Linked DNA regions of Homo sapiens: regions 1, 2, 3 and 4 are each linked to region 5. The links are contacts of gene promoters, found by promoter capture Hi-C in human tissues and cell types (Jung and others, 2019). All regions are on one chromosome and are shown on one strand. Each heading gives the region's core, a stretch centred on a gene start or on the middle of the fragment in contact. The rest is flanking DNA. Distances are from core to core; before and after follow the strand shown. Region 1 overlaps DYNLL1 (dynein light chain LC8-type 1). Region 2 overlaps RNF10 (ring finger protein 10). Region 3 overlaps GCN1 (GCN1 activator of EIF2AK4). Region 4 overlaps PXN (paxillin). Region 5 holds the start of MSI1 (musashi RNA binding protein 1).

Evidence for each region. Contacts are between HindIII fragments. The study calls those that stand out against the background at their distance.
Region 1: a contact is called between a fragment that was not itself captured here and the fragment with the promoter of MSI1 in region 5, in 5 of the 25 tissues and cell types used here (dorsolateral prefrontal cortex, lymphoblastoid cells, mesenchymal stem cells and 2 more).
Region 2: a contact is called between a fragment that was not itself captured here and the fragment with the promoter of MSI1 in region 5, in 6 of the 25 tissues and cell types used here (bladder, dorsolateral prefrontal cortex, lymphoblastoid cells and 3 more).
Region 3: a contact is called between a fragment that was not itself captured here and the fragment with the promoter of MSI1 in region 5, in 1 of the 25 tissues and cell types used here (spleen).
Region 4: a fragment that was not itself captured here is called in contact with the fragment with the promoter of MSI1 in region 5 in 1 of the 25 tissues and cell types used here (bladder).

The regions. Positions count from the first base shown.
Region 1 is chr12:120,497,902-120,502,753 of GRCh38, reverse strand. DYNLL1 (dynein light chain LC8-type 1) reads right to left here. Exons shown (of 3, transcript NM_003746.3): 3 at 4,261-4,681. The coding sequence ends at 4,544. Among named protein-coding and RNA genes, the nearest start is that of DYNLL1, 4.2 kb to the right of the region's middle. The HindIII fragment of the contact is 3,028 bases long and covers 1,977-4,852 here.
Region 2 is chr12:120,538,962-120,543,802 of GRCh38, reverse strand. The region is part of intron 1 of RNF10 (ring finger protein 10); the gene reads right to left. Among named protein-coding and RNA genes, the nearest start is that of RNF10, 7.0 kb to the right of the region's middle. The HindIII fragment of the contact is 6,302 bases long and covers 201-4,841 here.
Region 3 is chr12:120,170,979-120,176,073 of GRCh38, reverse strand. It overlaps GCN1 (GCN1 activator of EIF2AK4), which reads left to right. Exons shown (of 58, transcript NM_006836.2): 11 at 200-328; 12 at 862-912; 13 at 1,905-2,003; 14 at 2,248-2,421. Among named protein-coding and RNA genes, the nearest start is that of MIR4498, 18 kb to the right of the region's middle. The HindIII fragment of the contact is 3,020 bases long and covers 1,421-4,440 here.
Region 4 is chr12:120,206,820-120,211,495 of GRCh38, reverse strand. It overlaps PXN (paxillin), which reads left to right. Exons shown (of 15, transcript NM_001385981.1): 15 at 1-1,049. It overlaps PXN-AS1 (PXN antisense RNA 1), which reads right to left. Exons shown (of 4, transcript NR_038924.1): 3 at 1,562-1,657. Among named protein-coding and RNA genes, the nearest start is that of PXN-AS1, 7.9 kb to the right of the region's middle. The HindIII fragment of the contact is 7,134 bases long and covers 1-4,676 here.
Region 5 is chr12:120,366,195-120,371,011 of GRCh38, reverse strand. It overlaps MSI1 (musashi RNA binding protein 1), which reads left to right and starts at 1,848. Exons shown (of 15, transcript NM_002442.4): 1 at 1,848-1,979; 2 at 2,139-2,179; 3 at 2,739-2,820; 4 at 2,920-3,004. The coding sequence starts at 1,921. The HindIII fragment of the contact is 19,353 bases long and covers 1-4,817 here.

The DNA.
Region 1 (4,852 bases), core at 2,241-4,740, 130 kb before region 5:
CTTGAACCCAGGAGGTAGAGATTGCAGTGAGCCGAGATCGTGCCACTGCACTCCATCCTGGGTGATAGAGAGAGACTCTGTCTCAAAAAAAAAAAAAAAGAAAGAAACCTTTTCACTAAGTCCTTGTTGGAAAATAAATGTACCAGCAAAATCCTGCTTTCATGTCTTATATAGGGAGCTTTTTTGTAAGAGTACACTTGTTTTATAGCAAAAAAAAAAAAGTTTGAAAATGATGTAAGCTAACCTTCAGTACTCAGAGATGGAGCTGAGCAGACTTCTTGTCTCCTTGTTATAGTCTACTGTTGTCTTTCTTTTTCATTTTTTGTCATTTTCTTTTCTTTTTTTTTTTTTTTGAGACAGAGTCTCGCTCTGTCACCCAGGCTGGAATTCAGTGGCGCGATTTCAGCTCACTGCAAGCTCCGCCTCCCGGGTTCACGCCATTCTCCTGCCTCAGCCTCCCAAGTAGCTGGGACTACAGGCGCCCGCCACTGCGCCCAGCTAATTTTTTTGTATTTTTAGTAGAGACGGGGTTTCACCATGGTCTCGATCTCCTGACCTCGTGATCCGCCCGCCTCGGCCTCCCAAAGTGCTGGGATTACAGGCGTGAGCCACCGCGCCTGGCCTTGTCATTTTCTAAACTTCTCCCTGAATACAGTCCACTGTTTGATGTTAAAATGAGGCCATAAATTTTTTTAAGAGACAGGGTCTCGCTCTGTCACTCAAGCTGGAGTGCAGTGACCTGATCATAGCCCACTACAGCCTAAACTCCTGGGCTCAAGCAGCCCTCCCACCTCAGCCTCTTAAATAGCTGGGTCTACAGGCATACGCCATAGTGCCTGGTTAATTTTTTAATTTGTAATTTTTTTTTTTTTTGGAGACCGAGTCTCCCTCTGTCACCTAGGCTGGAGTGCAGTGGTGTGGTCTTGGCTCACTGCAACCTCCGCCTCCCAGGTTCAAGCAATTCTCCTGCCTCAGCCTTCCAAGTAGCTGGGATTACAGGTACCTACCACCATGCCCAGCTAATTTTTGTATTTGTAGTAGAAACAAGGTTTCACCATGTTGGCCAGGCTGGTCTCGATATCCTGACATCAGGTGATCTGCCCACCTCAAGCCTCCCAATGTGTTGGGATTACAGGTGTGAGCCACCATACCTGGCTGCCATAATTTTTTTTTTCTTACTAGAGACAGGGTCTCCCTGTGTTGCCCAGGCTGCTCTCGTACTCGTGGGCTCCCACCTTGGCCTCCCAAAGTGCTGGGACATGAGGCACTGCACCCAGCCATAAATATTTTGAGTGTGGATGAATCATAAGGTTTTAAAGAGGCCTTGCTAAGAAACTGCAGAAATTGGTCCGGCACAGTGGCCTATGCCTGTAATCCGAGCACTTTGGGAGGCCAAAGAGGGCAGATTGCTTGAATCCAGGAGTTCGAGACCAGCCTGGGCAACATGGCAAAATCCCATCTCTACAAAAAATAAAAAATTAGCCAGATGTGGTGGTACACACCTGTGGTCCCAGATATTTGGAAGGCTGAGGTGGGAGGATCATCTGAGCCCGGGAGGCGGAGGTTGCAGTGAGTCGAGATCACACCACTGCACTCTAGCTTTGGTGACAGAGTGAGACCCTGTCTCAAAAATGAATTGCAGAAATCAGTCTGTGACTTGGCTAACAGTTTGTGGATAACATAGTTCAAAGGTATGTGAAAGGGCTTCAGATACGCTGCTTCCTGACCCAGCACAGTAAGGATCATTTACGTGCCTTCACTTACAAGATCTTGCCCTGTCACTAAAAAGCTTCTAGATAGAGCTAGCTATATACAACTCTCTCAAAGAACAGCAGCTAAGAGCATTTGATAAATGCTTAGAAAAACTTAGCTTACATTTTCTTTTCAGCCAGCTGGAGCCTATTGGCTTTTGAAATTAACAGGAAGGAACAGGCACTGGAAGGAGCTTCATAAACCATCAACCCAGTCTTATCTCCATAGCAACATGGTTTTCTCACATCTGAATAAAAAAACAAAAAAGCTGCCAACTTGACAGTAAATATGGGACAGATCATATTCAACTAAAACTCCCAGTGTCTAGCTATCAGTCTTGAATCAGCTTTTGGGTCTGTAGCTAGAGACAGATCATCCGTTCTGAGTAGGGCTTAACTGGACAAACTAAAGCTTTGGAGGCCAAATTCCCTGTGGGCTTCAAATAGAAATATAGCCAGGTCACTAAAGAGGGAAAAGGGATAGAAAAAATATGAGTTAGGCCAGGTTCGGTGGCTCACACCTGTAATCCCAGCACTTTGGGAGGCCGAGGTGGGCAGATCACGAGGTCAGGAGATCGAGACCATCCTGGCTAACATGGTGAAACCGTCTCTACTAAAAGTACAAAAAAAATTAGCCTTGCGTGGTGGTGGGTGCCTGTAGTCCCAGCTACTCGGGAGGCTGAGGAAGGAGAATGGTGTGAACCTGGGAGGCGGAGCTTTCAGTGAGCCGAGATCGCGCCACTGTACTCCAGCCTGGGCGACAGTGAGACTCCGTCTCAAAAAAAAAAAAAAAAGAAAAAATATGAATTAAACCGGGTGTGGTGGCTCGTACCTGTAATCCCAACACCTTGGGAGGATTGCTTGAGCCCAGGAATTCAAGACCAGCCTGGGCAACACAGGGAGACTCCAGCTCTACAAAAAATTCAAAAGTTAGCTAGGCATGGTGGCATGTACTTATGGTCCCAGTTACTTTGGAGGCTGAGGTGGCAGGATCACTTGGGCCCAGGAGGTTGAAGTTGCAGTGGGCTATGATCACACCACTGCACTCCAGCCTGGGCAATAGGAGTCTCAAAAAAAATGAAAGTTAGAAAAAAGGAACATTTTCGGTCTGTTTATATAAATACAAACATAAAATTACCCCAGTTGCAGTCTCCTGTTTATTCCACAGTACCTCATCCTTTTTTGCAGACAGCAGGGAAAAAACTGGCACAATAGTCAAAATTGCCAGGTTTGGTGGCTCACGCCTGTAATCCCAGCACTTTGGGAGGCAGAAGTGGGCAGATTACCTGAGGTCAGGAGTTCGAGACTAGCCTGACCAATATGGTGAAACCCCATCTCTACTAAGAATACAAAATTAGCCGGGCATGGTGGCACATGCCTGTAATCCCAGCTACTTGGGAAGCTGAGGCAGGAGACTTGCTTGAACCCAGGAGGCAGAGGTTGCAGTGAGCTGAGATCACGCCATTGCACTCCAGCTTGGGCAACAAGAGCGAAACTCTGTCTTAAAAAAGTCAAAATCTTGCACCTCTACCCTGAAACCCTTCCAATCCTAAAGTAGCACAACTTTGCTAGGATTCTTAAAACCACACATTCTGAAGAAAAATAAACTTCCAAATATGTTACTGACCTAATTCTACTCTTACAATGGGAGTTATCACCCATCAATTCCAATCTATCGCCCTCTTCTGTGTAGCAGTCACCTAGCTGCTTAGAAATCCCAATGGCATCTTAGAGATCCATGGGAAAACATAGGCTAACTACAAGTCAGGACCCTTCTTGCAGTTTCCCAAGATGGGTGTGGGTTGTTCCAGCCTGTCTTATTTCCTTTCCACCTACAAGTCTGCCATATTTGCTTTTCTACGACTGCAGTCCTCTTAAAATTGATAGCAGGAAACCTCTGATAGCTACTTGTCCCCAGCTTTAATTGGGTCTTTTCAGGAAAAGGTATCAATTCACACTTGTTCCTGACCACAGCAAAGCACAGCACAGCAGGCTGATAAAGTCTTTGCAGGAATTTACATTATTAGAAGAGCATGAAAACTGCTGCTCAGAAACATTTACTTTCCCCTAAGGCCACCTTCTTTCTAGGCAGGGGAGGGGGCTAGACAAGGGTCCTGGAATCCATTTCATTATCCCAACTTTGTTTTGAGCTTATTTCCATTTTATAGCCATAGAAAGCTTCAAGTACTACTACATACACATCCATCACCACAACCTGAGGCCAAAGGCCCAGAACATTCTATAGCAATGTCTTAACAAATATCCTTAAACATTGATTTTTTTCAGATTAGGACTAAAGATTTAATTTAAATGTTTCTTTATCATGCACTGCATTTCTCAACATGCACAACAGTTGCAGGATGGGTGAGAGAATGTGACTAAAGAGTACTGAAATACCCCACAGAAACTTAACTTCTGTAAGGATGGACTCATCCCCACCAACCTGGGCATCTGATCAAGTGACCGTCTTCAACGCTGTTATTTGAACAAATTGTAATTCACACACATACACATCTGCATCAGATTTATTTTTTAAAGGAATGGATTTTGAGAGAAAACAACGTGGGCAGAAGTATGGAATAGAAAATAAATACAAATGTAGGCTATTCTGCTAATTGTTTTATAACCACGACAAACTAGTACAGAGAATGCCCTGTACAAAACACAACAAAGGTTCAAACATCGAGATGTTCCCTTAGCAAGGCTGAAAATTTCAGTCTCTGGTATTTGGAATTTAGGCTGCAGTCCTTGTTTTTGGATGGATCACTGGGTGTGTGGCACAGTCCATGCTTTTAACCAGATTTGAACAGAAGAATGGCCACTTGGCCCAGGTAGAAGTAGATGAAGTGTTTGGTTTCATGTGTCACATAACTACCGAAGTTCCTCCCCACGATGCAATGCCAGGTGGGATTGTACTTCTTGTCAAATTCCTGGAAAAGACAAAAGAAAAGAACTAGGATTTTAATTACCAGAGGTCAGTGTTTGCCTCTTGGATAAGCCAGAGCCTGTAGGGGCAGAAAGGAGGAACGTCAGCATCTGCAAATTCTTAGAATGAAAGAATGTTCCCCAGCTCCAAGCCGCCTACATAGTACATTAATACA
Region 2 (4,841 bases), core at 2,102-4,601, 170 kb before region 5:
TTGAGACAGGATCTTACTTTTGTCACCCAGGCTGGAGTGCAGTGGCATGATCTCGGCTTACTGCAGCCTCCAACTCCTGGGTTCAAGCAATCCTCCTGCCTCAGCCCCCCAAGTAGCTGGGACTCCAGGCATATACACCATTCTTGGCTTAATTTATATTTTTGATATAGACGGGGTTTTGCCATGTTGCCCAGATGGGTCTCAAACTCCTGAGCTCAAGCGATCCACCAGCCTCAGCCTCCCAAAGTGCTGGGATTACAGGCGTGAGCCATCAGGCCCGACCTAATTTTTAAATTTTTTTGTGCAGACGGGGGTCTCACTATGTTGCCCAGGCTGGTCTCAAACTCCTGGGCTCAGGCGATCCTCCAGGCTCAGGTGATCTTCCCACCTCAGCCTCCCAAAGTGCTGGGATTATAAGCATGAGCCATGGGGTCTGGCCCCACTTTTATCTTATTACAATGATTCTCAATCTTGCCAGTTCATAGGAATCACACAGATGAGCTTTTACGGAATTCCTATGCTCAGGCCTCACCCTCTAAGATTCTGATATAACTATACTAAAGTACCTGTCTGCAGACCTGTAATATTATCTGAGTAATTTTTTTTAAACTTAGAAAAAATTATTTCTTGGTAAGTACAATCACCAGCTTTTTATAGCAGGCTAAATAAATTCAAGGTTAAACAATGCCTCAGAAAGAAGAAAATGTAAGTTAATAAATCAGAGACCAAATTTTGAAAGCAACCACTTCACGCCCATAGTCTGTCAACCTCACTGTATAAATGAGATGTCATTCTCTCCAAACCTGACCACCTAAAACCTGGGAGTCAATCTAAACCATGTGAAATGGCAGCAATGTAAACAGAACAGTCACAGAAACAGGCTAGGTTCACTCCTACCAGTTACCCTTAAATCCTGCTTACGGACAGTGACCCTTACCTTAGTTACAATTTAAGGCCAGGCATGGTGGCTCCCTGTAATCCCAGCACTTTGGGAGGCCAAGGCAGGCAGATCACATGAGGCCAGAAGTTCGAGACCAGCCTGGCCAACATGGTGAAGCCCCATCTTTACTAGAAATACAAACATTAGCCAGGTGTGGTGCCACACGCCTGTAATCCCAGCTACTTGGGAGGCTAAGGCATGAGAATCATTTGAACCCGGGAGGCAGAGGTTGCAGTGAGCTGAAATCACGCCACTGCACTCCAGCCTGGGCAGCAGAGTGAGACTCTGTCTCAAAAAACAAATAAATAAAGTTAGAACTTAAAAACTAAACTTTTACCTATTACTTCAGTTAGCAACAGTTAGTGTCAAACATGGCACTAGTAGTAACAATTAGAAAGCAAAGTTTCAGCGCTGGACTTGGTGGCTCATGCCGGTTGTCTCAACACTTTGGGAAGCCAAAGCAAGAGGATCACTTGAGTCCACGAGTTTGCGACCAGCCTGGGCAACATAGCAAGACCCCATCTCTACAAAAAATTTAAAAATTAGCCCAATGTGGTGGCACACACCTGCAGTCCTAGCTGAGAGGCTGAGTTGGAAGGATTGCTTAAGCCAAGGTTGAGGCTGCGGTGTGCTATGATGGCACCACTGCTCTCCACCCTGGGCTACAGAGTGAGCCTCTGTCTCAAAAAAAGAAAAAGGCCAGGCACGGTGGCTCACGCCTGTAATCCCAGCACTTTGGGATGCTGAGGCGGGTGGATCACGAGGTCAGGAGATCAAGACCATCCTGGCTAACATGGTGAAACCCTGTCTCTACTAAAAATACAAAAAATTAACCAGGCGTGGTGGCGGGAGCCTGTAGTCCCAGCTACTCAGGAGGCTGAGGCAGGAGAACGGTGTGAACCTGGGAGGCGGGGCTTGCAGTGAGCCAAGATTGCACCACTGCACTCCAGCCTGGGAGACACAGTGAGACTCCATCTCAAAAAAAAAAAGAAAAAGATAAACCAGGCACAGTGGTTCAAGAGTTCAAGGATCTCTTAAGCCAAGGAGTTCAAGGTTTCAGTCAGTTATGTTTGCACCACTGCATGCCAGCCTAAGTGACAGAGCGAGAGCTTGTCTCTAAAAAAAAAAAAGCCAGGCACGATGGCTCATGCTTGTAATCCCAGCACTTTGGGAGGCCAAGGCAGGTGGATCACGAAGTCAGGAGATAGAGACCATCCTGGCTAACATGGTGAAACCCCATCTCTACTAAAAATACAAAAAATTAGCCAGGCTTGGTGGCGGGCGCCTGTAGTCCCAGCTGCTCGGGAGGCTGAGGCAGGAGAATGGCGTGAACCCGGGAGGCGGGGCTAGCAGTGAGCGGAGATCGTGCCACTGCATTCCAGTCTGGGCGACAGAGTGAGACTCCGTCTCAAAAAAAAAAAAAAAGGAAAACTCAGGGGATGCAGAACCCCAGCTAACTCAGCCACATTCTCTTGCTTTGCTTTCCTTAACTCCATTTCACATCACCTCAAGCAAAGGAGATTCTACGAGGATAGGTATATAAAGAAAACACATATCCTCCAACCTCATTATCCAAGACTGTTTCAGATGATCCTGGACCCTACCTGTTTGACCCTAACTGCTGCTTTCAAGATGCACCTCACGGTTTGCATAGATTTAGGTAAAGCCAGATTCTACATGGCAAGGGCTTATTAAGAAAGTAAAATGGCCAGACACGGTGGCTCATGCCTATAATCCCAATGCTTTGGGAGGCCGAGGCGGGCGGATCACCTGAGGTCGGGAGTTCGAGACCAGCCTGACCAACATGGAGAAACCCCGTCTCTACTAAAAATACAAAAAATTAGCTGGGCATGGTGGCGCATGCCTGTAATCCCAGCTACTCCGGGGGCTGAGGCAGGAGAATAGCTTGAACCCGGGAGGTGGAGGTTGCGGCAAGGCCGAGACTGCACCACTACACTCCAGCCTGGGCAACAAGAGCAAAACTCTGTCTCAAAAAAAAAAAAAAAAAGAAAGTAAACTGGCACTCAGCAAGAAGGCTGTCTTCATTTCTTCACTTATTACCACACTGGCAAGGAAACAGTTTCATAATGCTTACAGAAATGCTCACTGATAAGACAGTAAACTGCTCATTTCCAAAACACATAACAACTGACCACATCATGATTAGTGATTTTAGTTGCCAAAATCAACTCGTTTCTCGTCTTCCAGTTACCTAAGGGTATGAAGACAGATATGTCAAGTGAGAGACTGGCTCTTATCTCTAGACCCAGGCAAAAGGCAGCTAAAGGTTGAAGGTACCATCAGGCCTGGGACCCAGAGATAAAATTCAGAGTATTATTTTTGAAATGTTTTGTGGACAACTTGCCAGGATATACATGGGAAAAACTCGAGGGTAGAACAGGAGTGATAAGATGATCCACTTTAGATTTTGGAAAACAAAAAATATCAAGTTCCTGGGAGAAGGAACTATGGGTGAAGTTTTAAATCTCAGAGTGGTGGTTCTCAATCCTGGCTGCACACCAGAATCACTTGCACAGACTTTTTAAATTATGAATGCCCAGGACCCACGGGTTCAATCTAGGCTTAAAGAATCAGAAAAAGGCCAGGCACAGTGGCTTATGCCTGTAACCCCAGCACTTTGGGAGGCTAAGGTGGGAGGATCATTTGAAGCCAGGAATTTGAGACCAGCCTGGGCAACATGGTGAGACCCCCATCTCTACAAAAAAAAAAAAGATAATAAATTCCTAGGAAGGGGCCCCACACACCCCTATTTTTTTTTTTTTTAAGTTCCTCATGAGGTCAGGAGTTTGAGACCAGCCTGGCCAACATGGCGAAACCCATCTCTACTAAAAATACAAAAATTAGGCCGGTGTGGTGGTGGACACCTGCAATCCAGCTACTCAGGAGGCTGAGGCAGAAGAATTGCTTAAACCGGGAAGGCAGAGGTTAAAGTGAGCTGAGATCGCGCCACTGAACTCCAGCCTGGGTGACAGAGCAAGACTGTCTTGAGGGAAAAAAAAAAGTTCCTGAGGAGATTCTGATGCACAGCCACCACTGAGAACAACTGCCAAGAACTACTGTCAAGACACATTCCAAAATGGACAAGACCACTAAACTCAGGCTCCAGAGTCGACAAATAAATGACTTAAAAACTTAACCCAGCTTCTCAGTTGTTCCACATTTCCCTAATGGAAAGGTCTCCACCAAGTAGCAGTAGGTATATCTCAGCCTCCCCCCATTACCAAATTAAGGGCCACAAGTTTTTCACAGTTAAATTACTTGGCATCTTCATTTCTAGCTCTAGTTCTAACAGGTGGCTCGGCCTAGAGGTCAGAATACCAGTCAGCAAGTTTCTGCTGCTGATTCATGCTGTAATCACAAGCAAGTTGCTTACCCATCATCCAGAGTAGTTGACAAGCACCTCCAGAGGGGCAACATATGGCCTTACTACAGAATCAACTGACAACAAATTGAATCCAGCTGAAATTAGTAATTCTGAATGAAAGGAAGAGAGAGGTGGTATCAGGAATGATGCACATGCCAGTAAGTTATCTGCTTGCTAAGTGTGATTATACAAAGCTTATTGAAAAATACCGCCTAGGACTTCATAAAAATTTACTTGGACAAATCACTCTTAACACTGCTAAGCCTCTATTTTCTTTTCTGTGAAACAGGACTAATATTCTACCATACTTCCTCATAGAATCATGAGGATTAAGAAAGAAAACTTCTGTAAAATGCCTACCATAGTGGCTGACACACAGTTTTACTATGATTTGAAAGCCTATCATTAATAAATCCAAAGCGTTCCTGTCAAGAGCACCCACTAGACTTCCAATGAAGCCATATAAACCAAGGAATCCAGCCAACGGGCCCTGAAATTCTTTTAATTTCTCTAAGT
Region 3 (5,095 bases), core at 1,681-4,180, 200 kb after region 5:
GTAGCAGGGGTAGGGGACAGCTCAGGGTAGTAATAAGGCCCTAACCTAAACTACATTGGCATTGGCAGTTTCTTTCTTGAGATTATTTGAATGAGAGCAAACAGCTAATACTGAAGAGATGGGGGCATGGAAAAGACAAAGACGAAAGTCTGGATGCTCAGTTGTTGGCTGCTTCTGAGCAGTGGCTTTGTGTGTGCAGGTCACCTGAAATCCAACAGTCCCCGCCTGATGGATGAAGCTGTGCTGGCACTGCGGAACCTGGCACGCCAGTGCAGTGACTCTTCGGCCATGGAATCCCTGACCAAGCACCTATTTGCTATCCTCGGAGGTGAGCAAGCCTTCTTGGCCATGCGGGTGGTTGAGGCGTGGCCCCTGGTATTTCCCTCAACTGGGATCTGAAGGGGACTTGATGCTCCAAGTCTGCCTGTGGCAAGGCTGTGTGGCCAGGGGGACGTCACACTGGAATGTGAATGTGTGTGAATGAACAAAACCGTGCACGGGGTGGTGTGGATGGGGTGATCTCAGGTTTTTTGTTTTTAAGATACACATTTTTGTAGGCATAGCAGAAAAAACTAAAGGAAATACACCAGAAAAGAAATGTCTTTGAGTAGTGGAGACATGAGTGCCTTTTAAATGTTTTTCTTTATATTTTTTCTGTTTCTCAAGTTTTTTGTAGGAACATTCTTTTTTGAGTCAGAAAGCAAAAGGCTAGTAAAAGTTGCTTTAAACCCAGCTTCACAACACAAAGGCTACTTCTGGAATCAGAAACCGTATCGTGGCATCACACACGTGACTGCATTGTTCACTCTCTTGGGAAATGTGGCATATGTGAATGTGAATCTTTGCTGTCTCTCTTCTCAGGCTCGGAAGGAAAACTAACTGTTGTAGCCCAGAAGATGAGCGTCCTCTCAGGTATAGGATTTCTTTTTTTTTTTTTTTTTTTTTTTGAGAGAAAGTCTTGCTGTGTCATCTAGGATAGAGTGCAGTGGTGCCATCTCAGCTCACTGCAACCTCTGCCTCCCAGGTTCAAGCGATCCTCATGCCTCAGCCTCCTTAGTAGCTGGGATTACTGGTGCACACCACCACGCCTGCTAATTTTTTTGTATTTTTAGTAGAGATGGGGTTTCACCATATTGGCCAGGCTGGTCTTGAACTCCTGGCGTCAAGTGATCTGCCCGCCTCAGCCTCCCAAAGTGCTGGGATTACAGGCAGGTACAGGATTTCTCTGCCAGGAGTAGAGCTGTGATCTGGTAGTAGATAAGCTTTTTTTTTTTTTTTTTTTTTGAGATGGAGTCTCACTCTGTCGCCAGGCCGGAGCGCAGTGGCACAATCTTGGCTCACTGCAACCTCTGCCTCCCGGGTTCAAGCAATCCTCCTGCCTCAGCCTCTTGAGTAGCTGGGACTACAGGCACACACCACCACATCCAGCTAATTTTTTTGTATTTTTAGTAGAGACAGGGTTTCACCACGTTGGCCAGGATGGTCTCGATCTTGACCTCATGATGCACCTGCCTCAGCCTCCCAAAGTGCTGGGATTACAGGCGTGAGCCACTGCGCCTGGCCTAGTAGTAGATAAGCTTTAACATAATTCTTAGGTAAGGCGAAGCCTTCTTTGCATCTTGACTCCTGTGACGATCTTGGGTCCAGCCTGCCTCCCAGGACCCTGCTGCTTGCCTGCTTGACAAGAGGGACTTGTTCAGGTCTAGCAGGAGGCTTGGCTTCTATAGAAGGCAGGAGGTGTAGAGGGGGCATTGAAGGAAGATCAATAATGGCCAAAGGAGAGGTATGCCTGCTGGAGACACAGAAGAGGTCTGTGACCCAGAGTGCGGAGGTGGCAGCAGTGGGAAGACTTGCCTCTGTGGTTCTGTGCTGATAAGAGACTGAACAGGGAATCTGCCTTTTAGGGATTGGGAGCGTCAGTCATCACGTGGTGTCTGGACCTTCCAGTCAGGTCCTGAATGGGATCGTGGCTGAGCTGTTCATCCCGTTCCTTCAGCAGGAAGGTAATTCTGTGCAACATGGTGAGCATGCGTTCTGTACTCATCCTTGACCGTGGTTTTTCACAGTTGGAGCTTTCCTTCCATAAACCTCTCCTAAAGACACACCTCCCTCAGAGCAAGGCTCGTAGCTGTCTGAAATATCACTGCTTCCTCCCGCTTGTACTCTGGCTTGTTTTTTGCACTGCTTGCAATGATTTGACATGGTTATAAGACATTGGACTGACTGGACTTCTGCTTTTTGCCCTAGTTCATGAAGGGACCTTGGTACACGCTGTCTCAGTCCTGGCTCTCTGGTGTAACCGATTCACTATGGAAGTGCCCAAGAAGCTCACTGAATGGTTCAAAAAAGCTTTCAGCCTTAAAACCTCCACATCTGCGGTGAGGCATGCCTACCTGCAGTGCATGTTGGCCTCTTACCGGGGTAAGACAACTCCCAGGGCTAGTGTCCAGGTCTCCTTGCAGAGGTTACTGAGTCTTTAGGGTATTGTTAGTGTTCCCGCTTTCCCTGTTAGTTCAGCTTATTTTGCACTGTTTAATTCTTCCTGAAATAAATGAGAGCATTGGGCTTAGCCCAAAATCCGAATTCAGTCTTCACAACAAATTCTGGCTTCTCCCCCTTGTCAGACTTTCAAAGTACAAAGCTTTATTCAGAGAGGACCAGAACCAGAACTTGTCACTATAGTATCTGAAATCATGGAGAAATGACTCAGATAAGACTGGTTTAAGGGCTGGGTGCGGTGGCTCACACCTGTAATCCCAGCACTTTGGAAGGCCGAGGCGGGCAGATCACCTGAGGGCAGGAGTTCAAGACCAACATGGCGAAACCCTGTCTCTACTAAAAATACAAAAATTAGCTGGGCATGGTGGCGGGCACCTGTAATCTCAGCTACGTGGGAGGCTGAGGCAGGGAGAATTGAACCCGGTAGATGGAGGTTGCAGTGAGCCGAGATTGCGCCATTGTACTCCAGCCTGGGCAACAGAGCAAGACTCTGTCTTGGAAAAAAAAAAAAAAAAAAGACTGGTTTAAAAAATCCAACTTCGTGTAAACTTTACTCTGGACTTATTAAAAATGACCACCGCCCTTCCTTCAGTGTTGAGGAACCTACTGTCATTTGGGCAAGCAGAGCTGGGGGAAACTTTCAAATCTGTATAGGAGCTTGGTCTCCAAGCTATAAACCTCTATTACTGATTTCCATCTCAGAGATATGCTTGTATTTCTTTTTAAAAAGATTTAAACTTATGAACTGTATTTAAAGAAGCATCTAGGAGAGGCTGGGCACAGTGGCTCACGCCTACCAGCACTTTGGGAGGCCGAGGCGGTTGGATCACCTGAGGTCAGGAGTTCGTGACCAGCCTGGCCAACATGGTGTAACCTTGTCTCTACACAAATACAAAAATTAGCCAGGCATGATGACAGGTGCTTGTAATCCCAGCTACTCGGGAGGCTGAGGCAGGAGAATCGCTTGAGCCCAGGAGGCAGAGGTTGCAGTGAGCCGAGATCAAGCCATTGCACTCCTGCCTGGGTGACAGAGTGATACTCTGTCTCAAAAAAGAAAAAGAAACATCTAGGAGATTCCAGGGCCTCCTCTTGGGAGGGGACCCCCTTCTGTGTGAAATGTCTTGTCTGATGAACTTTGTACTCACATATTTCTTTTAATGATAAGGGAAGAAGAATCTGACCATAAGAGATTTTTGCACTGATTTGAAAGCAATATATCTTTTTCTGAAATATGTCTCCCAGCTCAGAATCATAGATCATCTTTGTGCAGTGGTTTGTGAGGTTTATTCAAACCACAGGTAGTGCTGATTGAAGTCATAGATTTTCCATGGGTAGAAATGTACGCTCAATACATTTTCAGCTGCCTTAGGGATATAGTGAACTCACATCCATGACTTAAAAACAGTCTATGAGGCAGGCGAGCTGGCTCACGCCTGTAATCCCAACACTTTGGGAGGCTGAGGTGGGAGGATTGCTTGAGCCCAGGAGTTTGAGACCAGCCTGGGCAACAAAGTGAGACCCCCATCTCTACAAAAAAATTAAAAAAATAGCTGGGCATGGTGGTACATGCCTGTGGTCCCAGCTACACAGGTGGCTGAGGCAGCGGGATTGCTTGAGCCCAGGAGTTCAAGATCAGGCAGGGAAACATAGCAAGACTCTGTCTCTACCAAAAATTATATAAAAAGTCTATGTACTATATATATCAGTTTGCATTATTGCTGCATTGAATGACCATCAGTTGTAGGTGGGACTTTGAATTGTAGATGGCAAAAACTTGGTTTTACCTAGTCTCTTCAGCTTGAGCTAGTTCTGCTCGTTGCATTTATTTTTAATTTATTTTTTAAAAAAGGAATGCAGAGTGCCAGAACTCAATGCTCATTGCTTTTAAAATAAACATAATATAAAATAAACCTTTTAAAAACAAAACGAAAATAAACCTCTGTAATAAAGATTTCTTGGATTCAAGTATAAAACATTATCTGGGAAACTGCTTTCATTGTGAAATGTTCTGATGTACCCATTTAGTAGCTATGGAAACATGGAACAACAAACCAAGGTGTTGGGGTAGGGGGGAAGAAAACATGTGCTTGAGCTATAGTTTTTTTTTTGAGATGGAGTTTCTCTCTGTCACCCAGGCTGTAGTGTAGTGGTGCGATCTCAGCTCACTGAAACCTCCGCCTCCTGGGTTTAAGCGATTCTCCAACCTCAGCCTCCTGAGTAGCTGGGATTACAGATGCCCACCACCATGCCTGGCTAATTTTTGTATTTTTTAATAGAGACAGGGTTTTGCCATGTTGGCCAGGCTGGTCTTGAACTCCTGACCTCGGGTGATCTGCTCGCCTCAGCCTCCCAGAGTGTTGGGATTATAGGCATGAGCCACCGTGCCCAGCCAAACTATAGTTTTAACTGGTTTCTCTTTTTTTTTTTTTTTTTGGAGATGGGGTCTCGTTCTGTCACCCAGGCTGGAGTGCAATGGCACAATCTCGGCTCACTGCAACCTCCGCCTCCTGGGTTCAAGCGATTCTCCTGCTGCAGCCTCCTGAGTAGCTGGGATTACAGGCGTGCACCACCCCACCCGGCTAAGACAGGGTTTCAC
Region 4 (4,676 bases), core at 439-2,938, 160 kb after region 5:
ATCCACCGCCACTGGGCCTGTCACTGATGGTGGCTCTGGTGTGAAGTTTGCTTTGTACTGAGGGTTGGGGTGGGGAAGCAATTTGTATTTTATTGTTTCTTAGCACAAGCAGGTGAACTGGGAGCAGCTCTGTGACTCCCCCTCTTTCACTTCATAGCTCACCAGGACTGTTTTATAAACTGCTGTATTTGGAAACCCCTTCTTTACTTCCCAGGCCAGCAAGCTCTTCACTGAAACTGGTTGAAGGGTGTTGCACCCTTTTGGGCCTAGAATTCTGAACTTTATCTGTTCTGTTTCTGTGGGAGGAGAAGGGGAAGTATGTTTTGGGGGGCTGCTTCCTGTCTGAGTAAGCCCTCAGGAGCCTCTGCTCCCCTGTGAACCCACTGAACCTTCTGAGCCCCCACTGCTTCTATGGGGCTCTCTCTTCTGCCTTCTCAGGAAAGCTGGTGTCTGATTTTGGCCATCAGGACTCTGACGTCTCTTTGGTCTTGTTGATTTCCTCTGGGCATATCCCTTCCCCAGATCTGCTCCTCCCCTTTCACAGGTGGGATCGGCACTCAGGGGGTCTGGAAAGAAGGTCATAAGGGAGCATGATAGGATTTGGGGCAGAGGGACAGGCTCCTCTGGGGAAACCCCCCAGAGCTCTTTACCAAGGATGAAAGAGGAGCCAGGCCTTGGGCTCCTGATGAGGAGAAAGGGGCCCCACCGGGGTCTAATGGTGACAGTCCAAACCACTCCACTGGCCTCCTGGCAGAAGCCGAGTGTGCTGGGGTCTCCGAAGAGGGTCCCTCCTTTTTGGGGGAAGGTCAGCCCAGCCCCTCCAAAGGTCTGATGTCTCCACTTTCACCCGCAGGCCTTACCGCTCTGTTTATAGTGACCCACCCTAGATCTTCCCCAAGAGGGACTGGGGTTTCTGGGGTCCATTCTCTGAGTCAGTGGTTATTTGAAAATTTGATTTTGATTTTATTTTTTCTCTGTAAACTTCCAAGCTGGCTTTTCCCATTTCAATTCCTGTGATTTATGCCAATAAAGTTTGCCCATGATTTTCACCTGTGCTAGTGCTATTTCTTGGTGGTCTGAACCTCATGGTCCCAGCAGAGACCAAACCCACCCCAGATGCAGCTGGATCACCAGATGGAGGGTAAATTGTGGATGTTTCCTTTCTTGAGGTCAAAATCCCTGGGGCTGGGGTCCGTGGTCCTTGCCTGTGGTCACAGGTCCTCCCCGTGGGCTTTGCTCCTGCCTGGGCAGTTGGTGAGGACAGGCTGGGGAGCAGCGGGATGGGGCCCTGTGGGGCAGGGCCTGCCCAGGGTGTGATCACCTGGGTTTACCAAGGGCATCCTCACTCACGGGCTTGTGGGTGGCTTTCCACTCATTTAGAAGTAGGGAAAGAGGCTCTAGGACAAGAACCTACATGTACAAGGCAATCTGAGTGAGGGCAGAGCCATGATGCGGACCCAGGGCTTGCCTCTGCCTGTGTTCCTGCACAGAACCAGACGCGGCCGTGCCTGAGCCCACACAACGTGGGTTAGCCCCTTCCCTGCCGAAGGCAGTTACTTACAGTTGAGGATGGGTCTCTACTGCCTCCTCGTCGTCATGTCCGGATTTGCGTGCTTCCTCTTTGCTCCGGTCAGATCCAGAGCTCCAGTCCTAGGCCCTAGAGCAGGGATGTCCAATTTTTTTTTTTTTTTTGAGATAGAGTCTCACTCTGCCCAGGCTGGAGTACAGTGGCATGATCTCGGTTCACTGCAACCTCCACCTCCCAGGTTCAAGGGATCCTCCTGCCTCAGCCTCCTGAGTAGCTAGGATTACAGGCAGCTGCCACCACACCCGGCTAATTTTTGTATTTTTAGTAGAGCCAGGGTTTCACCATGTTGGCCAGGCTGGTCTCAAACTCCTGATCTCAAGTGATCTGCCTTGGCTCCCAAAGTGCTGGAATTACAGGCGTAAGCCACCACTCCTGGCTTTTTTTTTTTTTTTTGAGATGGAGTCTCACTCTGTCATCCAAGCCAGAGTGTAGTGGCACGATCTCGGTTCACTGCAGCCTCTACCTCCTGGGTTCAAGCAATTATCATGCCTCAGCCTCCCAAGTAGCTGGGATTACAGGTGCCCACCACCACACCCGGGTAATTTTTGTATTTTTAGTAGAGCCAGGGTTTTACCATGTTGGCCAGGCTGGTCTCAAACTGCTGATCCCAAGTGATCTGCCTGCCTCGACCTCCCAAAGTGCTGGGATTACAGGCATGGGCCACTGCGCCCAGCTGGGTGTCCAATCTTTTGGCTTCCTTGGGGCCATGTTGGAAAAAGAAGAATTGCCTTGGGCCACACATAAAATACACTAATGATAGCTGATGAACTAGAAAAAAAATAATAAAATCACAAATCTCATAATGTTTTAAGAAAGTTTACAAATTTGCCCTGTAATTCCAGCACTTTGGGAGGCCGAGACGGGCAGATCATGAGGTCAGGAGATCGAGACCATCCTGGCTAACACGGTGAAACCCCGTTTCTACTAAAAATACAAAAAATTAGCCAGGCATGGTGGCGGGCGCCTGTAATCCCAGCTACTCGGGAGGCTGAGGCAGGAGGATGGCATGAACCCGGGAGGTGGAGCTTGTAGTGAGCCAAGATCACGCCACTGCACTCCAGCCTGGGCGAGAGAGCGAGACTCCGTCTCAAAAAAAAAAAAAAAAAAAAAAAGAAAGTTTACAAATTTGCATTAGGCCAAATTCAAAACTATCCTGGGCCGCATGTGGCCCACAGGCCATGGATTGGACAAGCTTGTCCTAGAGCTTCCTGGGCAGTTTTGTTTAACCTTGAGCTGTGTCTTCACAGCTTCCCTGTTGTTTGGAACGGTTCTCCAAAAGCAGCATGTTGAATTCTAGTTTAAACTCTTCCCATGCTATAGTGAGCTCAGAAGTGAAAATTACCTTCAACGCTCACCCAAAGAGAATGATGGGGCCAGGCTCTGTGGCTCATGCCTGTAATCCTAGCATTTTGGGAGGCCAAGGTGGGAGGATCATTTGAGCCCAGGAGTTCAAGAGAATAACTTGGTTTATTCTTCCAGCCCATGTTGGATTTATTTTATTTCTAGAAATGGGTATGGTATATTTCCTTTTTTTTCTTTTTTTTTTTTTTTTTTGAGATGGCATCTCACTCTGTCACCCAGGTTGGAGTGCAGTGGCGCGATCATGGCTCACTGCAACCTCTGCCCCCCAGGTTCAAGCGATTCTCCTGCCTCAGCCTCCTGAGTAGCTGGGATTACAGGCACCCGCCACCACGCCAGGCTAATTTTTATACTTTTAGTAGAGACGGGGTTTCTCCATGTTGGCCAGGCTGGTCTCGAACTCCTGATCTCAAATGATCCACCCTCCTCGACCTCCCAAAGTGCTGGGATTACAGGCGTGAGCCACCATGCCCGGCCAGGTATGGTATATTTCACTGTAATGTGCTTTTCGCTTTGCTTTGTGGATATTTTCCCATGTCAATAAATATAGATCTGTACCATTTTCTAATGGCTTCATGGTATTCCGTTATATTGATGTACTACAATTAGAGATGATATTTATATCATCAGAGCCAGGAGGTCCTTGGAAATGTACCTTGTGCATATGTATATACTTGGAAAAGTGCGTTCAGAGGGAGGCTGACTCAGGGTTTGGAATGGACTGTATAGCACAGTGAGGCCCAGGGGCTTTGAACTTCCTCCTAGATTTCAGTTCTGAAGCCTTCACTTACTGGCTGAGAGACTTGGGCAAATTATTTAACCTTCCTGTGAGTATTCTCATCGATAAAATGGGAGTACTGACAGTACTGTATCTCCTCAGAGGATTGTTGCAAAGATTAGCTTCAGTAATGTGCACAGAGTACTTAGGACAATACGAAGTGTGCAGTAATACATTGCCATTAAAAAGAGATCTCGGGTGTCCGCGGGTTGCCGAATGGAGCTGAGCATCTTGATGGAACCAGGGATCTCAGGGTGAAGACTGAAGCCCTAGGCTATGGCGGAAGTTGGGTGCCTGAAGTACAAGTGGAAATATGCCAACTGAACATTGGACCACCACAGCCTGCCCCCTGGCTCAGCGCCCAGTGCCAACAGAACACCTTTCAGGATCCACAGCAAGGCAGACAACGGAATCCACACAGGCTTCCATTCTCAAAAGGCCATCAAAACATAACTGCCGGCCGGCCACGGTGGCTCATGCCTGTAACCCCAGAACTTTGGGAGGCCGAGGCCGACAGATCACTTGAGCTCAGGAGTCCAAGACTAGCCTGGCGAACATGGTGAAACCCTGTCTCTACTAAAAATACAAAAAGTTAGCTGGGTGTGGTGGTGGGTGCCGGTAATCCCAGCTACTCTGGAGGCTGAGGCAGAAGAATTGCTTGAACCCAGGAGGCGGAGGTTGCAGTGAACTGAGATTGCACCATTGCACTCCAGCCTGGGCGACAGAGCGAGGCTCCATCTCAAAAAAAATAAAATAAAATAAAATAAAAATTAACTGCTGACGAGACAATTTATATTTCCTTCCCCTCACTACACTCCCTGAATGTTCTGGATCAGTGTGTCTCACACCTTTGGATCTTACAAGCTAGTTGGGAAAGTTCTATGGAGAAGGCAAAGATTTTGAAGGCACAGGAGACTATCATAGACACTCACAATGATCATAGATAGTAGT
Region 5 (4,817 bases), core at 599-3,098:
TGGCAGGATATACCTGCTGAGCATTCCCAGAAGGTCCCCAAGGAAACCATTACTGTAAGTCTCTCACTTTCTTCTCTGCCTGATGGTTGGGGTGGGGAGAGGGAAGGAGGGCTATCAAGAGGGGGATGGGCACCCTTCCAGAGGTCAGAGTTATGATGCCCAGGAATAAAAGGTGTTGAATTCAGGATGGAATGTGAAGGTGAACAGCAAAGGGCTTGTCAACATGGGTTGTCACTGGATTACACCGGATGGATTAAGGTAGGGATGGGGGAAGGAGTAGAAGGTGAGTTGGGAGGGAGGGGCTTGTGTGGCACTGAGACCCCCAGCAGGGATGGGGAGAAGGGGTGTTGGCCACCTAAGCTTCCTGGTTTGATCCTTTTTTGGCTGGTTTCAGCTGGGGAAGTGAAGGGTCCTAAGGCTTGGATATGGAGAGGTGGGAATATGGAGAGGTGGGGATATGGAGAGGCGGGGATAAGGAGAGGTGGGGATAAGGAGAGTGGCCCCGCAGCTCCCCTGGTGAACCAGAATACTTTCTCAGGGTTGTTCCCAGGCTGGAGGGAGGGAATTTTAGGGGTACGTAAGGTGACTCCAAGGAGCCTTGGGTGCAAGTACTGGGGGATCCCAGAGACCCAGAAGATGGGGGTAGAAAGGAAGGTGTTTGCCTTCACGGGGAGTAGCCTCAAAATAAGAGGGACTGAGGGAAGTCATTCCAAATGCAGTGGGTAGGTAGTTTAGGCTCTTCCAATGGGATGGGGTGGAGCTTAGACCTCTGCAAAAGAAGGGGGTCATTCGGAGGGGACGGTGCACAGCTGAGGCGTTGGGCTCCTAAACTGGAAACAGGAGGCTCTAAGAGGCACTGCCTTTTCCTCCAGCCTCGGTGTGGTGGGGGTGGTGAGTGTCTGGAACCGGGTTTCCCGAATCAGGACAGGAGTCTGAATGGATCTCACAAAAACCGGCCAGGGAGGGAGAGAACCAGGGGAGACTCCTCACACCGGGAGGTGGGGGTGGCGGCAAACTGAGAACCCGGGCTTGGGGCGCGGGATTTTCTCAACAGACCATAGGGTCCACTAATGTGGACGGCAGGGATTTGGGGAAACTAAGGGGGACTCTCACTTTGGACACCAAGGGCTGAGGACGGATTGGGGAAGAGGATACGGTTTCTACTGGGGTGCTGATGGAGGTTCCCCACTCGGGACGCGAGGCACTGAGTGGGTCCCCCAAACTGGATATGGGATCCTGGGAACGGAGCGAGGGCTCTAAATTAGAGCCCTGGGGTGGGGGTGGGGGGCTGTAAATTAGGTTGGGAGGAAACTGGGGGCTCTGAGGGCGGCTTCTCGCTCCGACTGGGGAAATGGAGCATGTGGGGACTGGGGAGCACTAGGGCTATCTCCCGCCCGACCCGAGGAGATTGGGGTTCTCTTCAATTCTGGACAGCAGGGACCTGAGAGGGAAGACCGGGGGGGTTCCCGATCCGGAACCGAGCTACCTTGAAGGCACCGGGAAGCGCTTCATTCCGGGAGGGCGTTCCCGCGGCCGGGCCCCCGCGCCGGGGTGGGTGGGGGGTGCGGCCGCGCCCTGGTCCCGGCCCGCACCGGGATTCGGGGGTCTCGCTCGGCCCCGGAGACCCAGGAGCCCCGCGGGAAGGGGGTCCCGGCGCCGCCGCCTCCGCGGGCGCCCGGGCTCGCGGGCGAGCGCGGGGCTTTATGCGCGCAGGGCGGCGGGGGGAGGAGCCGGCAGGTCGGCCCCCGGCGGGCCCTCCCCTCGGCCGTCCCCGCCCGCCCGCCCGAGCGGGGTCGGGGGAGGGGGCAGCATGGCCTGTCCGTCCGGCCCCCTTCGCCGCGCTCCTCATCTGCCCCGCGCCGAGCGCCGCCGCCGCCGCCGCCGCCGCCGCTCCGCTGCCCGCGCCGCCCGCGGCTCCCGATGGAGACTGACGCGCCCCAGCCCGGCCTCGCCTCCCCGGACTCGCCGCACGACCCCTGGTACGGCCCGGCCCGGCCTGCTTGGCCCGCGCCCGCCCCGGCCCCGCCAACATGGCCGATCCGGGTCCGGCCGGGCCTCCCCGGAGCCCGGGCCCGCGCCCCCTGCGCCCTGGCGCCCGGCGCTCACGCGGGCCCTTTGTGTCTCTCCTCCTCCCGCAGCAAGATGTTCATCGGGGGACTCAGTTGGCAGACTACGCAGGGTGAGCGAGCCCGGGAGCGCCCGCCGGTCCGGCAGGGCACCCCGGACCCCCCGGCGCCCCGGACCCGGACACCCCAGCCCGGCCCTGCGCCCTGCTGACCCCGGGCGCCCTCGCGCCCTCTTTCGCGCCCCGCCCGGAGACCCCGAGAGCGCAGGGCGATCCGCGAGCGCACCCGGCCCAGCGGGTGGAGGGGAGCAGATGAGGGGTTCAGGGGGTATCGGGGGGTGGGCTGGGCCCCCGGGACCCGCCGGCGGCAGCGCCAACTCCGCTCGCACCTGCGGCTCAAACTTTTGTGAGGCTGCTCCCGGAGCGGCGGGAACCCGGCCGGAGCCGTCCCCCTTCCAGCCCAGCTCGGCCCTCGGCTTCCCGGGGCCCCGGTGGGCGCCAGGAGGCTCAGCGGGAACGGGGCGAGGGCGGTGGGGGGCGGCGGCAGTGGAGAACGCGCGGGCAGCTTGGCGCGGGGGCGGCCGGGCCGCTCCGGGGTCACCGGGGGCAAAGGACGGGGGGGGGGGAAGGGCGCGGGGCCCGGGCTGGTCCGAAGGCGGGTGTGTGGTTACAGAAGGGCTGCGCGAATACTTCGGCCAGTTCGGGGAGGTGAAGGAGTGTCTGGTGATGCGGGACCCCCTGACCAAGAGATCCAGGTGAGCCCCTCACCCCCTCCTCCTGCTCCCGGCTCGCCCCCCTCCACCCGCCACTCACTGCCTTGTAACCATCTGCCTCTCCCTCACTACGGCGCGCAGGGGTTTCGGCTTCGTCACTTTCATGGACCAGGCGGGGGTGGATAAAGTGCTGGCGCAATCGCGGCACGAGCTCGACTCCAAAACAGTGAGTGGCCCTCGGGGCTTCGGGGGTCCTTTGGGAGAGGGAGGCTGCCGGAGGAGAGGGTCAGGACTCTCCCCAGGGGACAGCTGGACGGGGTCCATGAGGAAGGAGGGAGTTTTTCTGAGTAAGAGGGCTGCCATGCTCTGAAACTTTGTCACTAGAGTTGGGGGGGAGAGGGAGGAGAAAAATCCCTGGCCTGCCATGAGATGCTACATCCCCCCTCCCCTAGTCCTGGTGAGGGGAGAGGCAGCCGCCACCCTCTCCCTAGAAGTACTAATCATGATGCCTCAGAGCAGAGCTTGGGGTGGGGCTAGGTCCCTCCCCCAGCCCAAATTGGGTGAGTCAGGGTAGCACTGACCCACCCGGTGGCTTCTGTGAACTCTAACTAGTATTTGGCTCTGCGACACCCCCTCTTCATCCAGACCAATGGCAAAGCATCCCTTGAAGCCCCCTCCCTCTCTCCTTCCCTCCTCCCCCGACTTTTGGTCAATGAGCTCCTTGCTTTGTGTGGAAGACAGGGACCTGCTTTGCCCACGGAGGGGATTTATGAGAAAGGCTCTAGCTTGCCTGGAAACGACCCTTCGGAAGACTAGATCTTAGGAGAAGCTGCTTGGTTGGCATTCAAACTCATGGAACATTTTGCTGTTGTCCCACAGCTCCTTCGTGTCTTAGACCCTGCAGGGGGCGCTGGCTCCAGGGCAGATGGAAAAGTAGAAAAGTCAGAGGAGGGGGTTACTCCCATGTGATGGGGGTGTCTGTCTGCTGGGGGCAGGGATAGTGTGGATCTCTTCTCTCCATGCTTCCCTGCTGTCCCCCAGCCTTGGGCCTCTCTGCTTGGGTCAGTCCCTGGCTCCCGTTTACCTGCAACAATAGCTGCTTGTGCCCAAGAATTTGTCAAATTACCGCCTGTCCCCAGCTCCTGTTATCTCTGCCCAGTGGCTCCCGCTCCCGCTCGCAGTAATGAGCAAATGAGGCCAGGCCTCAACTTTGCCGGCTCTGAAAGGATCTTCTTGGCGCAGCCTGAGTGACCCAAGCCTGGAAATGGAGAGACAGTGGCCTATTGTTTTTGGTGATTATCTGCCATCAAGCTGCCTGTTCTGCTACCATCCCCTGTCCTCAGAATGCACTGATGGCTTCTGCAGTGCTGAGGAAGCTGAGATTTAGGGGCTGGGGGATGGAGGAGTGGAAGATTGATAAAGGGGAAGAGAATGAGGGAGGAAGGAGGGTGAGATGAGCATCCTTAGGAGATGGGGCTGAAAAGGGCCAGGGCTTTGTCTGTGTTTGGCGTCCTCCAGCCTGGGAAAGGGGGTGGGAGGGAGGTTTACTGTGGGGAGTCTATTTTGAGCTCTGACTTTCACCTTTTATTTACTTGTTGGGTTTTATTTATGTTGCCAGCTGTGAGTCACAGTGGAGGTGGGGTGTGTCAGGGATGGGGTGTGCGTGGGTCTGTGGGATCGTGGCTTGGGTACCATCTCCCCATCGGGGTCTGTGTAGGGGGACTGTGTGTGGTGCGCTGGTGGCTGGGGCGGCTGCTTCTGGGAGAAAGAGAAGGATGGACATGTCCGTGGAGGTGTGGAATTGAAACTTCAGGCGGGAGAAATGGGCAGTTGTGATTTTTCCCTGGAGCCCAGTGGGACTTGGCAGGAGAGGAGGCATTGCCCCAGTGTGGATTTTGGAGGTTCCATCTCTGTGGACAGATTCCAGTGGGGGAGCCTGTAGGAGGCTAGTTCCTGGTCTGTGCCATTCAGAGAGAAGCCAGAGCCAGCTGCCTAGAACGAGGCTGAGTTTTGAACAGAAGGAACTTTGGGAAAAGATA